Regions from separate parts of the Homo sapiens genome. Here all the other regions are linked to region 2. The links are contacts of gene promoters, found by promoter capture Hi-C in blood cells and fetal thymus (Javierre and others, 2016). All regions are on one chromosome and are shown on one strand. Each heading gives the region's core, a stretch centred on a gene start or on the middle of the fragment in contact. The rest is flanking DNA. Distances are from core to core; before and after follow the strand shown. Region 1 holds the start of LOC105378847 (a long non-coding RNA gene). Region 2 holds the start of LRRC8C (leucine rich repeat containing 8 VRAC subunit C). Region 3 overlaps ZNF326 (zinc finger protein 326). Region 4 overlaps LRRC8D (leucine rich repeat containing 8 VRAC subunit D).

What was found. The method cuts DNA at HindIII sites, captures the fragments that hold promoters and counts their contacts. A CHiCAGO score of 5 or more calls a contact.
Region 1: a fragment that was not itself captured here is called in contact with the fragment with the promoter of LRRC8C in region 2 in 14 of 17 cell types (erythroblasts, megakaryocytes, naive CD4 T cells and 11 more); the score reaches 11.6 in erythroblasts.
Region 3: a contact is called between a fragment that was not itself captured here and the fragment with the promoter of LRRC8C in region 2, in 1 of 17 cell types (erythroblasts). The highest score is 6.1, in erythroblasts.
Region 4: a fragment that was not itself captured here is called in contact with the fragment with the promoter of LRRC8C in region 2 in 1 of 17 cell types (M0 macrophages); the score reaches 5.3 in M0 macrophages.

Annotation. Positions count from the first base shown.
Region 1 is chr1:89,962,439-89,965,967 of GRCh38, reverse strand. It overlaps LOC105378847 (a long non-coding RNA gene), which reads right to left and starts at 811. Exons shown (of 3, transcript XR_001738142.2): 1 at 1-811. The HindIII fragment of the contact is 3,221 bases long and covers 283-3,503 here.
Region 2 is chr1:89,631,358-89,634,667 of GRCh38, reverse strand. LRRC8C (leucine rich repeat containing 8 VRAC subunit C) reads right to left here and starts at 1,548. Exons shown (of 3, transcript NM_032270.5): 1 at 1,346-1,548. LRRC8C-DT (LRRC8C divergent transcript) reads left to right here and starts at 1,774. Exons shown (of 3, transcript NR_033981.1): 1 at 1,774-2,011; 2 at 2,459-2,652. RefSeq lists enhancers at 577-626, 657-706 and a silencer at 1,087-1,746. The HindIII fragment of the contact is 6,667 bases long and covers 1-3,269 here.
Region 3 is chr1:90,010,541-90,013,862 of GRCh38, reverse strand. It overlaps ZNF326 (zinc finger protein 326), which reads right to left. Exons shown (of 12, transcript NM_182976.4): 7 at 626-737. Among named protein-coding and RNA genes, the nearest start is that of ZNF326, 17 kb to the right of the region's middle. The HindIII fragment of the contact is 9,650 bases long and covers 1-3,322 here.
Region 4 is chr1:89,936,081-89,939,586 of GRCh38, reverse strand. LRRC8D (leucine rich repeat containing 8 VRAC subunit D) reads right to left here. Exons shown (of 3, transcript NM_001134479.2): 3 at 2,976-3,506. Among named protein-coding and RNA genes, the nearest start is that of ZNF326, 57 kb to the left of the region's middle. The HindIII fragment of the contact is 1,474 bases long and covers 931-2,404 here.

The sequences.
Region 1 (3,529 bases), core at 644-3,143, 330 kb before region 2:
GAGACGGGGTGCAGGGAGGTCAGAGAGAATTTTGAGGCTGCTTCCTCCATTCAGCATGTCAAAGCACCATATTTTGGAGTAGCCTTTTCTGAGCCCAACAGCTGCTAATCCAGCATCTGAAGAAACAGGACTGTTGAACATGAACTTCTGTTATTTATCAGTATTTCAGCCAGGCTAGGCTGGGCTACACTGCAGTTACAAGTAAATTCAAAATTTCCATGACTTAAACTTGAAGATATAGTTCTTATTCATTATACTCTCTATCATTGTCTGCTAGAAGCTTTATTCCACACCATTGTCATCCTTACTCCAGACCTGGGGCTGACAGAGCGACCACTATAGGAATATTGCTGGTTGCCATGACAACAAAAAGATAAGATGGTGAAGCATCTTGACTTTTACAGCTTCCACATACATTTCATTGGCCAAGTCACATGGCAGTGCCTCCAAGTATGGGGGAAATTACGATCCACCATATGTCAGGAAGGAAAGAGAACAAGAATGTTTGTGAACAGCCCTAATGACCACTGTAGTTAGGGAGCAAAGATTTCAAAAGATTTAATTATCTCTTTTCCCAGAGAAAGACTTGACGTGAATTAGCTTGTTGAGAATTGGCAGGTTACCAAGGATATGTTTTTCTTTTCTTGATGAAAATAAATTATTGGCAAATAGTCCTGCTGAGTTGTTGTACTTTTTGCAATGTTTTCCGTTGCCATGGCCCACTGCTGAATTTAACCACCCTAGGTTAATTTCAGTAGCTTTCTTTATTAGAGTTGGGAAGATTGTCTTTTCCTCACCTGTGGGTCTCTTCCTCTCTCCAATGTAATAAAAGTGTATCACTTTTTTTTTTTTTTTTTTTTTTTTTGAGACCGAGTCTCACTCTGTCGCCCAGGCTGGAGTGCAGTGGTGCCATCTCGGCTCACTGCAAGCTCCGCCTCCCGGGTTCACACCATTCTCCTGCCTCAGCCTCCCGAGTAGCTGGAACTACAGGCGCCTGCCACCATTATACTTTTCCTACTCACATTTTAAAGCCCCAAATTTCTGATGGCACCAAAAACAGAACTCTTGATTAGAAATGATGGGTTTGGAACGTCCAAGGTCTTTATGTATATTTTCCACTGAGTTGATTCTCTTTTCTTGTAACTCATAAGTGCTGGAAAATGTTGCTTCCTTTTCCATTTTTAATATTGAGGTGCTTCTCAGATGGTTCTTCTGTAGGGAACCTTCCTAAAACTCATGGGGTATGTCAATTATCTACTGCCACATAACAAATTACCCTAAATCTCAGTAGTGTAAAAGAATGATGGACAGCTGGGCGTGGTGGCTCACGGTTGTAATCCCAACACTTTGGGAGGCCAAGGTGGGCGGATCACTTGAGGTCAGGAGTTCGAGACCAGTCTGGCCAACATGGTAAAACCCTGTCTCTACTAAAAATACATAAATTAGCTGGGTGTGGTGGTCTGTGCCTGTAATCCCAGCTACTCAGGAGGCCGAGACAGGAGAATCACTTGAAACGGGAGGCAGAGGCTACAGTGAGCTGAGATCTCACCACTGCACTCCAGCCTGGGTGACAGAGCGAGACTCTGTCTCAAAAAAAAAAAAAGAAAAAGAAAAAGAAAAGAAAGAAAAAGAATGATGGACATTACTATTTCTCACAGTCGCTGAGGTTCAGGAATTTTGAAACAACCTAGCTGATAGTTTTCGCTTGGAGTCTCTCATGAGGCTGCAGTCAAGATGTTAGCTAGGGCTGCGGTCATCTGAAGGCTTGACAGAGGCTGGAGGACAACTCATGCACATGCTGGAGAGTGCTGACTGCTAACAGGAGATCCCAGTTCCTCCCAGCTTGTGGCTTCTGTAGGGCTGTTTGAGGGTCCTTTTCCCCAAGGAAGTGATGCAAGAACAGCAAAGACAGCTGCAGTGCTTTTTAAGACTAAAACTCAAAGTCACATACTGTCACTTCTACAGTATTCTGTTGCTTATGCAGAATGCATGGGCAGCATGGGAGGGCATTATACAGGGATGTGGTCACCAGGAGGCAAGGATCACTGGAGGCCATCTTAGATGCTGGCTATCACAAAAGTAGGGCAAGAATTCTCTCAATTCCCTTGAAGTCTACCCCAAATATAAACATAAGAATTACAAGGTAAGTTCTATGAAGGCAAGGATTTTTTTTTTTTTTTTCGAGACAGTCTTACACTGTTGCCGAGGCTGGAGTGCAGTGGTGTGATCTCAGCTCACTGCAACCTCCGCCTCCCAGGTTCAGGCAATTCTCCTTGCCTCAGCCTCCCAAATAGCTGGGATTACAGGTGCCCGCCACCACGCCCAGCTAATTTCTTTGTAGTTTAGTAGAGATGGGGTTTCACTATGTTGACCAGGTTGGTCTCGAGCTCCTGACCTCGTGATCCACCCACCTTGGTCTCCCAGAATGCTGGGATTACAGTCGTGAGCCACCATGCCTGGCCAAGGATTTTTTTTTTTTAATCTTTGTTCACTGCTTAGTACTTTGGACATTGCCTAGCACATAATAGCTTCTCAATAAATGTTTTTGCAATGAATAGGTAAGAAAAATCAAGAAAACTTTTTAAAAATCTCTCAGTTAAACATTACAAATACTGTTTTTCAGCTTCAAATAAGGTATATAAATGTCTTGGAAATGTGGTAGTGTCATCACACTGTAGATAGCCAACAAACATTGAGAAAATAGTAAGACTTGCCAAGTTCCCTCCAAATTGGTGTTTAGAAGTGTGATTTTATTAGGGAGGCAATGTAGCACAGTGAATAGATGCAAAAAAACTGAGATTTTTGTCTAGGTTCTACCACCAGTTAGCTTCGTGAATTTAAGCAAGACAGCCTCATTCTTCCTACTTACAAAACCAGAGACTTGTATTAAATGATATTAAAGGCACTTCTAGCATGAACATTCGGATATTGTTTATTTGATCTCAACTTGAATTTTGCCATACACTTAAAACTAGGCCTATAAGACAATTTCTGATGTAATCTATTTATTGGATAGTTCTTTCATGTGCATCAGGCTTCAGTCTAAAATGTGTGCATAGGTTTGGGTTTATTTCAAGACTGTGGGGTGAGTCACTAAGTCTATGTGTATAAAGATTCTAGAAGTCCCTTGGGAAATAATTTACTCTAATGGAAGTGACAATTTGGTTCAAAAACAGTGTCTCAAGAATTGGAAGGGAAAGGCAATTTTTAAAATAGCTCCATGTCTACCTATCAAATTATCTGATTTCATAGCCCCCATTTGCTCATGTTTGAGTACCCAAGAGATGGGGCTGGAAGTAAAATGGATGCATTAAAATCTACAGTAATTTGACACAGATAACTTTTTCATGTGTTATTTATAGCTGAACACAGTACTCTAAGAGTGGTCTAACCACAGGAAGAGAATGCAAACACTTTTCTATTTGGAACAGTATAAAGTTAGAATTTTATTTTGGAGGCAGTGCATCGTCCGAACTCTTGATTCACGGTCAATAATCAAAGCTTCAAATAGTGTAGTAACCACATCTTC
Region 2 (3,310 bases), core at 299-2,798:
AACAAATTATTTAAAAATAAACAGAATTTATAAATGTATAAAAATTATTGGCTCTGGCGATTTTGCAGCATTGTGCTAACCAAGAGGACTACTCCACTTTTACTCCTTTTTCGTCTAAATGGCATCTTAATGACCTGCCCACGCTGAAGCCTCATCGATGCTTTGGGAAACCATCACATACCTGTCGGGAAATGTGACTGTTGGTTAAGGCTACGTTTCTCACACTACCGCGAAAGAAGTATGTGACTTACAAACGGCTGCGATTTCCTTTACCTATTCCTTCCTTCAAAGGCTGCTTTAAATGGAGGTAATTCAAGCCTCCCCGTGCCAAACACCGGCACTCCAACAAAGATGGATTGGTTCTTATTTTTTACTTTGAGGATGGGAACCTGAAAATGTTTCCTAACGTTTGCTGAGGCTTTAACATGTTTAAGGAATTTGAAACCAAGGGAAGTTTAGCCGTAATACTCTGAAATATCCGCATTAGGATGCGGGCTAGGTGTCCGGCTGTTGCAAAACTACGGAGGATGCGAGGTTTGGAAGAAACTGTTTGGACTTTGCTGTATACCGGGCAGGCGTGGGGGTTGGGGAGGGAAGAACCGGCTGAGGGAGAAAAGAAAGGCATTCGTGTCCACAGAACACATCTAAGGCTCCTGAGTTGCTAACTCCATCCCTAATCATCTCATTGGTGGGAACCAGCTGGAAAGGGAAAGATCAGCGAGCCTAGGCGTGGGATGAAGGCAGCGGTTTTGGCCTCAACCGCTGGCCTAAACACCTGGCTTCTGGGGCCCGCCCGATCAAGCTGAACCCCTTCCCTCCTGTCCTGCAGGTGAGCACACGGTGCTCTCACGTTTCTTCGAGAAACCTTCCAATTCCTTTCCCTGCCCAAAAGTGCTAACTTCAAGGGTTCGGAGGTGGCAGGGGGGTGATAGACCGGAAAGGACTGGCCCCGGGGTCTCAGAGATTTTCGAGGTAGGAAAGAACAACGATCGCCCCGGCCACGGACGCATTTCCCCTCGCGGACCGCCCCCCCACCCCCGCGCCCAGTCTGCAGGACCTGCCGCTGCGGCGCGGCGTTGGGCGCCAGGCTGAGATCCTCGCGCGGCCGCTCGGGCTAGCGCGGATTGGGTGGGGTAGGGGTTGGCGGGCTCCTGAGCCGCAGTAGCGGAAGGTTCCCAGCACCACACGCCGGGCGGGCAACCACATTCTGCCTGTCTGAGAGCCGGGGGGAAGCAAGGACGCGAGTGAGGCGGGGCGAGTCCCGGTCCGGCGCGCACAGCGGACCGAGCGGGTGGCCCTCTGCGGGCTGCCCCTCTCCATCCCTCCGCGGATCCCCCGCCCTTACCTCCGGGCGCGAGAGTGTCGACTGGAGAAGGTGCTAGGGAGCGGCGAGCTGCCTGGGGGTCGGGCTCAGCGGCTGCCAGGGACGGCGGCGTCGCCCGCGGGGTCGCTGCTCATGGCTTGTCGCGCCCGAGCACTGCGGCCGCGGCCACGGCGGCGCCTTCCTCCTACTTCTCTTCGCGGGCTTCCAGCCGGGACGCAGCTAACGCCCCAGCCCCGCAAGCCCTCCTCCCCTCCGCCTCCCCGGCCGCGGACGGAGCCGCCTCCAGCGCCGCCCCGCACGCAGCCCGGCTAGCGGCAGCCAGCGCCGCCCAGCGCCCGGCCCCGGGGTCGCCACCGCCCGCCGAGTCGACTCCGCGGTGCCAGCCCCGCTGTGACGCAGGCCGCGCCGCCCGGGAACTTCCTCCCCTGCAGAGACCACCTCGCTCCCGGGACTCGCCAGCGAGGGATGCCGCCGGCCGCCGGGGGCCTTCTCCAGGACCAGGAGAGAAATCCTCTCTCCGCTTCACGACGCGGCCACTCCCACCCCTGAGACGCCCACCTGGCGGACTCTGAGGGAGGATTCGGCTGCGTCTAATACCACCTCCACCCCTCATCCCTCACAATGCGCGGAAAACCACAGGCGGCTGTGCGCGCAGCGTCGGCTCAGCCACCGCAGCTCCTCCCCTGGGTAAGTTAGAGGGGAGCAGCCACCACTAAAAATAGCCCTTCTGGGAACTCCTCCGAAGGCCAGGGTCAGGATGAAGATAACCCCTCCACAGGAGAAGCGAAGGCCTCCTAAGAGAAGGGTGGGGAGGGGACGGTGGGATAGAATGAGGAAGATGGAGAAGGAGAAAAGCAAAACCCAATATCCTTGGATCATGAAGCCCTTGAGCCCCTTGACAACCAAGTCTCCTTTCAGGCCGGAATCCCCAACTGCACCGCCCCTGCAATACGGGCTAAGGGGCAGATTCCAGGGAGACTCAGTTGGAATGCCCCGCCTACAGCTCCCGCATAAAGGAGTTGACGGTGCACAGCAAAACCACCTGTTGTTTAACGAGTATGGAGGGAGGGGTTCTCTCTCATTGATTGATCTGAACCGTGCTTTTCTTCTCCCCATTTTCCCACCCAATTTCAGGATGAAAAAGCACTCTGACGTCTTGAAAGCTGGCAGCTCTCTGTTTGGAAAATCTCTGCCCAGTGAAAAAATGTACCGACAAGATTACTAAGTAACACAGTCTTCTGGGAATGCCTTATCAATGCCAGCTATTTGAAGAGCACCCAAAGTCAAACTAGTGCTCCGCGCTGGCAGTCTGGAAAAGGCAGATGTATGTGAGTAGAGAAACTGATAGACAACTAGTTGCTGGCCAGTTGGCCTGTTTTCGTGCTACAAGCCTTCAGAAAACAGTCGCCTCCTTTTACCACGTTTCTATTTCTAAACCAAAATGAAAAGGACGTTTGTTCAAAAGATATTCTCTTGGGCTTTACATTGCTTTCCCCCTGCTCACTCAGCAAAATCCTACACTTTTTTTCCAATTCCAATGCTGCTGTTGGGTGTCCTTCCCAGAAGACAACCTTAAATTCTCTTAGGCCTTAGGAGCTGAATCTAACACCAGTCTTAATTAACCTACAACAAGACAAAAATTTAGGTCCGGGCTTACCTCCTAGTCAGCAGATGGGAAAAATTCCTAGAGAGTCTCTGGGAAAAAGGCAAAGGCTAACTTTAGCAGTTTGCTAGAAAAAAAAAAATTCAAGTACCTTGTAAGTCACCAGGGTAGATGCAGCAATACTCTCTAAGGTAGCTTTACCTCTTCAATTCTCTTACCTTACCTGAATTTAAACACAGTGAGGCAAGTACCAAGGTCACAACCCTCCTGTGGAGGGCCTTATTCTGCAAGGGCTCTCTGATATACTTCTATCTTTGTACCGTTGGCACCTGACCACAAGCTTAGGCATCCCTGAAATGCTCCCTTGCTACCCAGTGTCAAGG
Region 3 (3,322 bases), core at 485-2,984, 380 kb before region 2:
CTTGATCTCCTGACCTCGTGATCTGCCCGCCTCGGCCTCCCAAAGTGCTGGGATTACAGGCATGAGCCACTGTGCCTAGCCCAATTCCCCTCTTATTTCTAATATCCTCTTTATTAAATATTACATTCTTCCTTACAGTCTGTTCACAGGCTAATCTGGTATAATAATTAGCTTTGTGTATTACCACATATTTTTAACTATTATAGCTTTTTAATGATTGATTATCTATAAAAGCCAGTACCTACTCATTTACTCTTCTTCAGAATTTCCTTTGGGATCTGGATTGGAAAGAACTTACATATTTGTAATATTTAATTCCTGCCCATGAAAATCACTATGACTCCATACAGTCAAATCTCAATGACAAGTGTTTCTTTTTAAGAATACTGTTATTTCTGAATATTTGATATCTTTTGGATTGCCAATATGAATAGAATGCCTTTTTTCTTATGTTTTCTAAGTAGTGATTACATATAAATATCAAAAACCAAAAGCATTCCTCTGTATCTTTGAACAAGTCTTTTCATTTGAATCTTAAGAACTTTTTAATATTACAATTGATGTGTTGGCTTTTTCTAGGAAATCATTTTTTAATGAACCTAATTTTCTGACTCTAAGTACAAACCTGTATCCATCTCCGTATTTCTCACTGTTTTTTTCTCTTCTGCGCCTTTGTTTCTCTCGCCGAGCCTCAATTCGCCGCTTTTCTTCCTCTTCATTTTTAGGATCAGTTTTTGCTAGGATATTACACAAAAAAGTAAAAGCTAAAATTCATTTTTCCATTCTCTCTTTCCAATCATCAGTTCGTAAAGTACATACTTATGAGGTATACTTAGTGATTGTAATCTAAAATTGAACTCACCAAAAAAATCGGAGTTTGAGACTATCCAGTATTTCTGAAACTTCACTAAATGAACTTCATTCATTTGAATACCATCATCATGAATTCTGTCATATCTGCTTGTCATCTATGTGATTATTTGCTACATATTTTTCTTTAAATGTGCTCATTTGTCCTATCCTTATTCTAAGCAATAATATCCTTATCACCTAAAATCATCTTGGGCATCACATACTTTGGGAAAAACACTAAAGTAACCTGACCGAGCATGAAAATGGAAGTCCAGTAAACACTGCAGAGCCCTGGATGCAAGAACTCATGTTCATATTGTAGGAGCTCTCAGAAAGTTTCTTAAAATTTGTAACCTCCAAAATAAAAGCAAATTTGTTCTCTTTTTTAAAAAATATTCTCTATTGTGATAAAATACACAAAACATAAGATTTACTAGTTTAACCATTTTAAAATGTGCAATTCAATGGCATTAAGTACATTCACAAAGTTACGCAACCATCTCCACTATCTAGTTACAGAACTGTTCATCATCCCATAAAGCAGTCACTCCCCATTTCAACCCTACCCTAAGGCCCTGGTAACCACTAATCTGCTTTCTGATCTACGGATTTGCCTATTCTAAGTATTTCATATACCTAGAATCATCCTGTCTGTTGCCTTTTTGGTCTGACTTTTATTTAGCATGTTTTCACAGTTCACCCATGTTGTACCATGTATTAGTAAGTACTTCCTTTTTTATGGTTTAATAATATTCCATTGTATGAATAACCCACATTTTTTAAACCATTCTTCTGTTGATGTATATTTCAATTGTTTCTACCTTTTGGCAATTATGAATAATGCTACTATAAACATTCATATATAAATTTTTGTTTGGACCAGGCACAGTGGCTCATGCCTGTAATCTTAGCACTTTGGAAGGCTGAGGCGGATGGATCACTTGAGGCCAGGGGTTCAAGACAGCCTGGCCAACATGGCGAAACCATCTCTACTCAAGATACAACAATTAGCTGGGCGTGGTGGTGCACATCTGTAGTCCCAGCTACTCAGGAGGCTGAGGAACGAGAATCGCTTGAACCCAGGGGCAGAGGTTGCAGTGAGCCAAGACTGCACCACTGCACTCCAGCCTGGGCAACAGAGTAAGATCCTGTCTCAAAAATAAAAATAAATAAATAAATAAATTTTTGTTGGAATACTACTTTAAATTCTTTGGAATAGAAGAATACCTAGAAGTGGAATTGCTGGATCATATGGACAGTCTATGTTTAATTGTTTCAGGAAGCACCAATCTGCTTCCCACAGTGGCTTCACTGCTTTACATTCCCATCAGTAATGTGTGAGGGTTTCAATTTCTCCATATCCTTGTCAACATTTGTTATTTTCCTTTTTTTATTATGACCATCCAAGTGGGTATGGAGTGGTAACTCACTGTGAGCAGGTTCTTTCTTATAATACATTTAACTTTATACTTAAAAAAAAAAAAAAAAAAAAAACTTAACTATTTGCCCTTAAATTTTTCCTTTTATGCACTGCTTATCCTTTTGGATGGCCTTTGAAAAATCTACTTATTTATATATTACCTCAAATAAGTAATTTAATCTTCCTTTCATATGCTAAAACTATGACATGTTGTACTTCTAGCCAAGTGACAGAATAGGGTTCCTTTCCTACTAATTTTCTATAAAGTCACATAGTCTATACTATAGCATAGCAAGACCTTGTATTGAGGAAAATTCAGCAATCATCTTTTTAAATGCCCATTTTACACCTGACAGAGAAGGCATAATTTAAAGAATTTTAGTTTCATTCTTAGCTACACAACACTTTTCTCAAGTTTTGTTATATAAAAAGGGGGTATGGGGGAGGGATACATATATATCTGCTTTAAGGGCAAATCAGTTTCTTTATCAAACTTTTGCAATATTTAACCATACGTGCAAAATATATCTTTGAAATAGGTCCCAAGAGAATCAACTGAATTTTCTATTATAGTAATGTCTAATAAAATGTCAAATTTGATACATAACAGTCTATCAATTGACACACTGTTAAAGGTATCCCCACAACACATACTCTGCTTAGTATCAGGTTTCCAGAACTCCAGAAATTCCAGAATATTGTTTCTTATTAAACAATAAGGCCTGATGAGAAAGTAATTTAAGTACACCTTTTAAACCTTTTTCAAATTTTATATTATAGAAAATATATTTTGAGGAAAGAATCTAACATTGCAATTTCAGTTTTTTCAAATATTACATATTAAAATGTCTATAATGTCATAATTAGGGAAAAAGTTATTTTAAAATAAAAGGGAAAAATGAATACAAAGCAAATTTCTGTTACAATCATATGGAGGTTTAAGAACAGGACTTCTAGAGCATGACTTGCTCTGGAATAAATACTGGCATTACCATTCACTGGTTGTTTGACTTAGGCAGCAAATTATTTATCTATTCTGTGCCTGTTTTC
Region 4 (3,506 bases), core at 418-2,917, 300 kb before region 2:
CTGCTATTGGCTTTGTGAGTGAAGGGACTTATTTCCATGATTTCAGCTGTGACTGTCACCCCAGGATAGGCTAGGCCAGGCCTGAGAGGCAGATGGTTCCTGGCCTGCTGCCCTTCTGCCCCCTTGGCTTCAGCCTTCCCTGTGCCCCAGTGGATACCGCCTTGAATACCCGGAGCCTTTAAGAGAGCCGCAGCTGGCCAGGATCAGAGGGGGCCACTTCTTCGTGTTGCAGTCACAAGTTAGAGGACTTTTGAAAACTGGTTTCCAGGGGCTTGCTCTTTTTTCCCCCCTTCTTTTTTTCATGAAAGGAGCTTTTTGTTAGTACAGCCTTTGTTTGGGGATTCAGTTGATAAAGGGACCATTTTATTGGAATGAATTACTGACGCAAGTGCTGGCAGAAATCTTAGCGAGAGGACAGCACTCTGGCTTTTATTCAACAAGGTGAATGGAAATAACTATTGGGCGTTGGCCTCAAGGGCACTTTGGAGTTTGCTGCCATCAGCAACTTATAGAGTTTTGGTTACTGGTTGAAGTAGAGACCAGGGGAGACAGAGAAAGTATTACGGATTAAGAAAGAATATGCTTTCTTTCTTTATATTAAAAAAATGTCAAACAGTCAGGACTTTGCTGGCCATGAATTATAGAATGAACTCTTCCTGCCTACTATTAAATTACTAAATCTGTACTACTAAGAATGAGGTCCCTGTGACAATTTTGGCTCATCTTTCTGAACCCTTGAAAGAGCCAATCCTGTCACGCCAACTAACTGCTAGTGAGAAAAAATTAAACAGCCACAAGGAAACCAAGTTCTTTCAGACTTTGAGAGACTCACCCAGACATGGCATATTTAAAAACAGACTTTAAATACTCTTCTTCAGATTGGTGCTCAACGGACTTCGTAGAAAGATATGAAAATATTAAGCCAAAGCTTATACATACTAACTTGTTTTTCTCCCATGTCTGGTCCATGCGATGCCAACATAAATTCACGAGGACACATAGGTTGACAGTCTATTTGGGCCCACAACTCTTTTTCTGTTGTTGAGGTGTCAAAACCCAGTATATTTAAAGTCTGTTGCATGAGTCAGCATTTCTCAGGAACTCTCTGAGTATTCCTATTTGCAAACAGTGGTATGGAATGTGACATTTAAACCAACTGACCGTGAACTTTTCAGAGTTCAAGGAAATTAGTAAGGGCTGATAGTCAACAGAAATTTGGGTAAAAGAGGTACCCCTTGATACTGTTTGAAGGCATCTAACACCAACCAGTTCTAAGTGACTGAACCCCAAGTAGTGTTTAGGAAACAGGAGCCTATGGGCAGGGCTGCCAGTGGCCAAACTTAGGGATTATCTCATAGATTGTGGTTCCTACAGAATGGCTCTTCTCTGAAAAGCAAAGTGAACTGTGGCATCCTGCCACCCCTGCCCTTCAAAAACAACATACACTTGTTTTAAGAAAGGCAGCTCATTGAGATGTAGTTTGCTACCATATTTAAGGTACATATGTAAAGGCCTTACAGATGTAGGGCCTTCTATATGCCAATTATACTTCAATAAGGTGTTTTGTTTTGTTTTGTTTAAAAAAGGGAAGACAAGTTTTCCAGTCCTAAAAGCAAAGATCCTAAGATCTGGACTCCTTATCTCACAACTAAGATGGAGTGGCATCCTTCTAAAAATACTGTGCTAATTTCAGGTGGTGGCATTACCAAGCAGGGAGAACAGTGCCCTACAAGGCTGGTGGAAGGGAAATGTTCAGGACCGTTTACAACTACAAAACTTCCCTGAAGCTCTTCTTTAAGTTCACTCCACCCCTGCCATTATTCATTTACACAGATTTTGTACACTTTTTGTTTGTTTGAGGCAAGGTCTTGCTCTGTCACCAGGTTGGAGTACAATGGCACAATCATAACTCACTGCAGCCTCATACTCCTGAGCCCAAGTGATCCTCCCACCTCAGCCTCCCAAGTAGCTGGGACTACAAGTGCATGCTAACATGCCCAGCTAATTTTTAAAATTTTTTGTAGAGATGGGGTCTTGCTATGTTGCCCAGGCTGGTCTCAAACTCCCAGGCTCAAGCCATCCTCCTGCCTCAGCCTCTCAAAGTGCTGGGATTATAGGTGTGAGCCACTGCACCTGACCTACACCATCTATAATTGTAATTAAACACTTCTATTATTTACATAATTAATATTTATCTCTCTACTTTGCTATATAAACCTCCATGTAGCCAGAACTTATTCCAACACTGAATCCCTACTTCCTTGTATTAGATAGGCACCAGGGTACATCATTAACACTAGTGAATACATTAATGAATGCTGAGACAACTGGAAGATGCATAGAAAAGAATTTGCTGTACTGAAAATATGCCACTGCTTTTTGTCTGATTATTCAAACTTAAGCTTAAAAATGTTTAATAAGCTAGTCCCCTACCTCAAGCCTTTGAGGAGGAGAAGGAATGGCCAGGGTGCCAGAGCCAGCGTCAATTCCTGACTCAGCTACAGGGGATGCAGCCTTTTCTATTTGTGATAATACTTCTCAGAGCATTCACAGGCTCTATGGCAGGCAAAGATTCACCTCCATTGGCCACAGACCAGGACTCCCAGAGTTCAGTTCTGGGGAGGAAAGCAAAGATATGAGTCCATCTTTGCCCATTATCAGCAAAATCCTTCAAGCTGTGCTTAGAAGTGACAAAAGTCCAGTGTTTAAGTGAGTCCAGTTTTGTAGCGAGAGGACACTACTTTGTCAGAGTGCCAAACTGTTCTATTCTCTTGAAGAGTCCTGTAGAAGGCCTATGAAACATCTGCCAACTAATATCTAAACAGGTGGCAGGGAATTTTTTGGATTTTTCTGAGATTGATTAGATACTGGTCAGTTAGATAATGAAGGAAATCATTATCTAAAAAGTGTATTCTCCTAGGATTTGTCTGGCTATGACGCCTAGCTGCACAAAAACACAGAAAATACAGCTTGTCATTAAGATAGGGAAAGGTAAGAGTTTCCCTACCCAATGAACTACATTTCCTATTATTTTCCCACCAACACCAGAACAACACTGAAAAGGGCAAGAAATTAAATGATACTTGTGATTCTGTGTTATCTTCCAAATGGTGGTGATACTGGAGGTTGTGTTAATAAGTCATTAAAATTTTTATTTTGTTGTAATAAAATTTATTTTTAGAAAACATTTTCTATTTATTGGCAACCCTATATTACTGGTAGAAAAATGTACCATATAATCAGAACTCCAAACTATGTCAAAAAAGCTATTATTAAGAAATGTGTTATTTCTTGTTACTTATTCTTAAAAAAACAAAACCCCTAAAAATCCACATACCTCTACTGCATTCCAAGTCTGTAAGAGTATAAAATCTATGACACGAGGTGCTCAGGAGCAGCAGTACCAGTCAACTGTTGTGAGAGGTGCTTACTTGAGGCACTTTAAATTAAAACAGGAAATAAATCAGTATTTCAGCAAATCTAAATTTACAAGTTTGGACTTGATG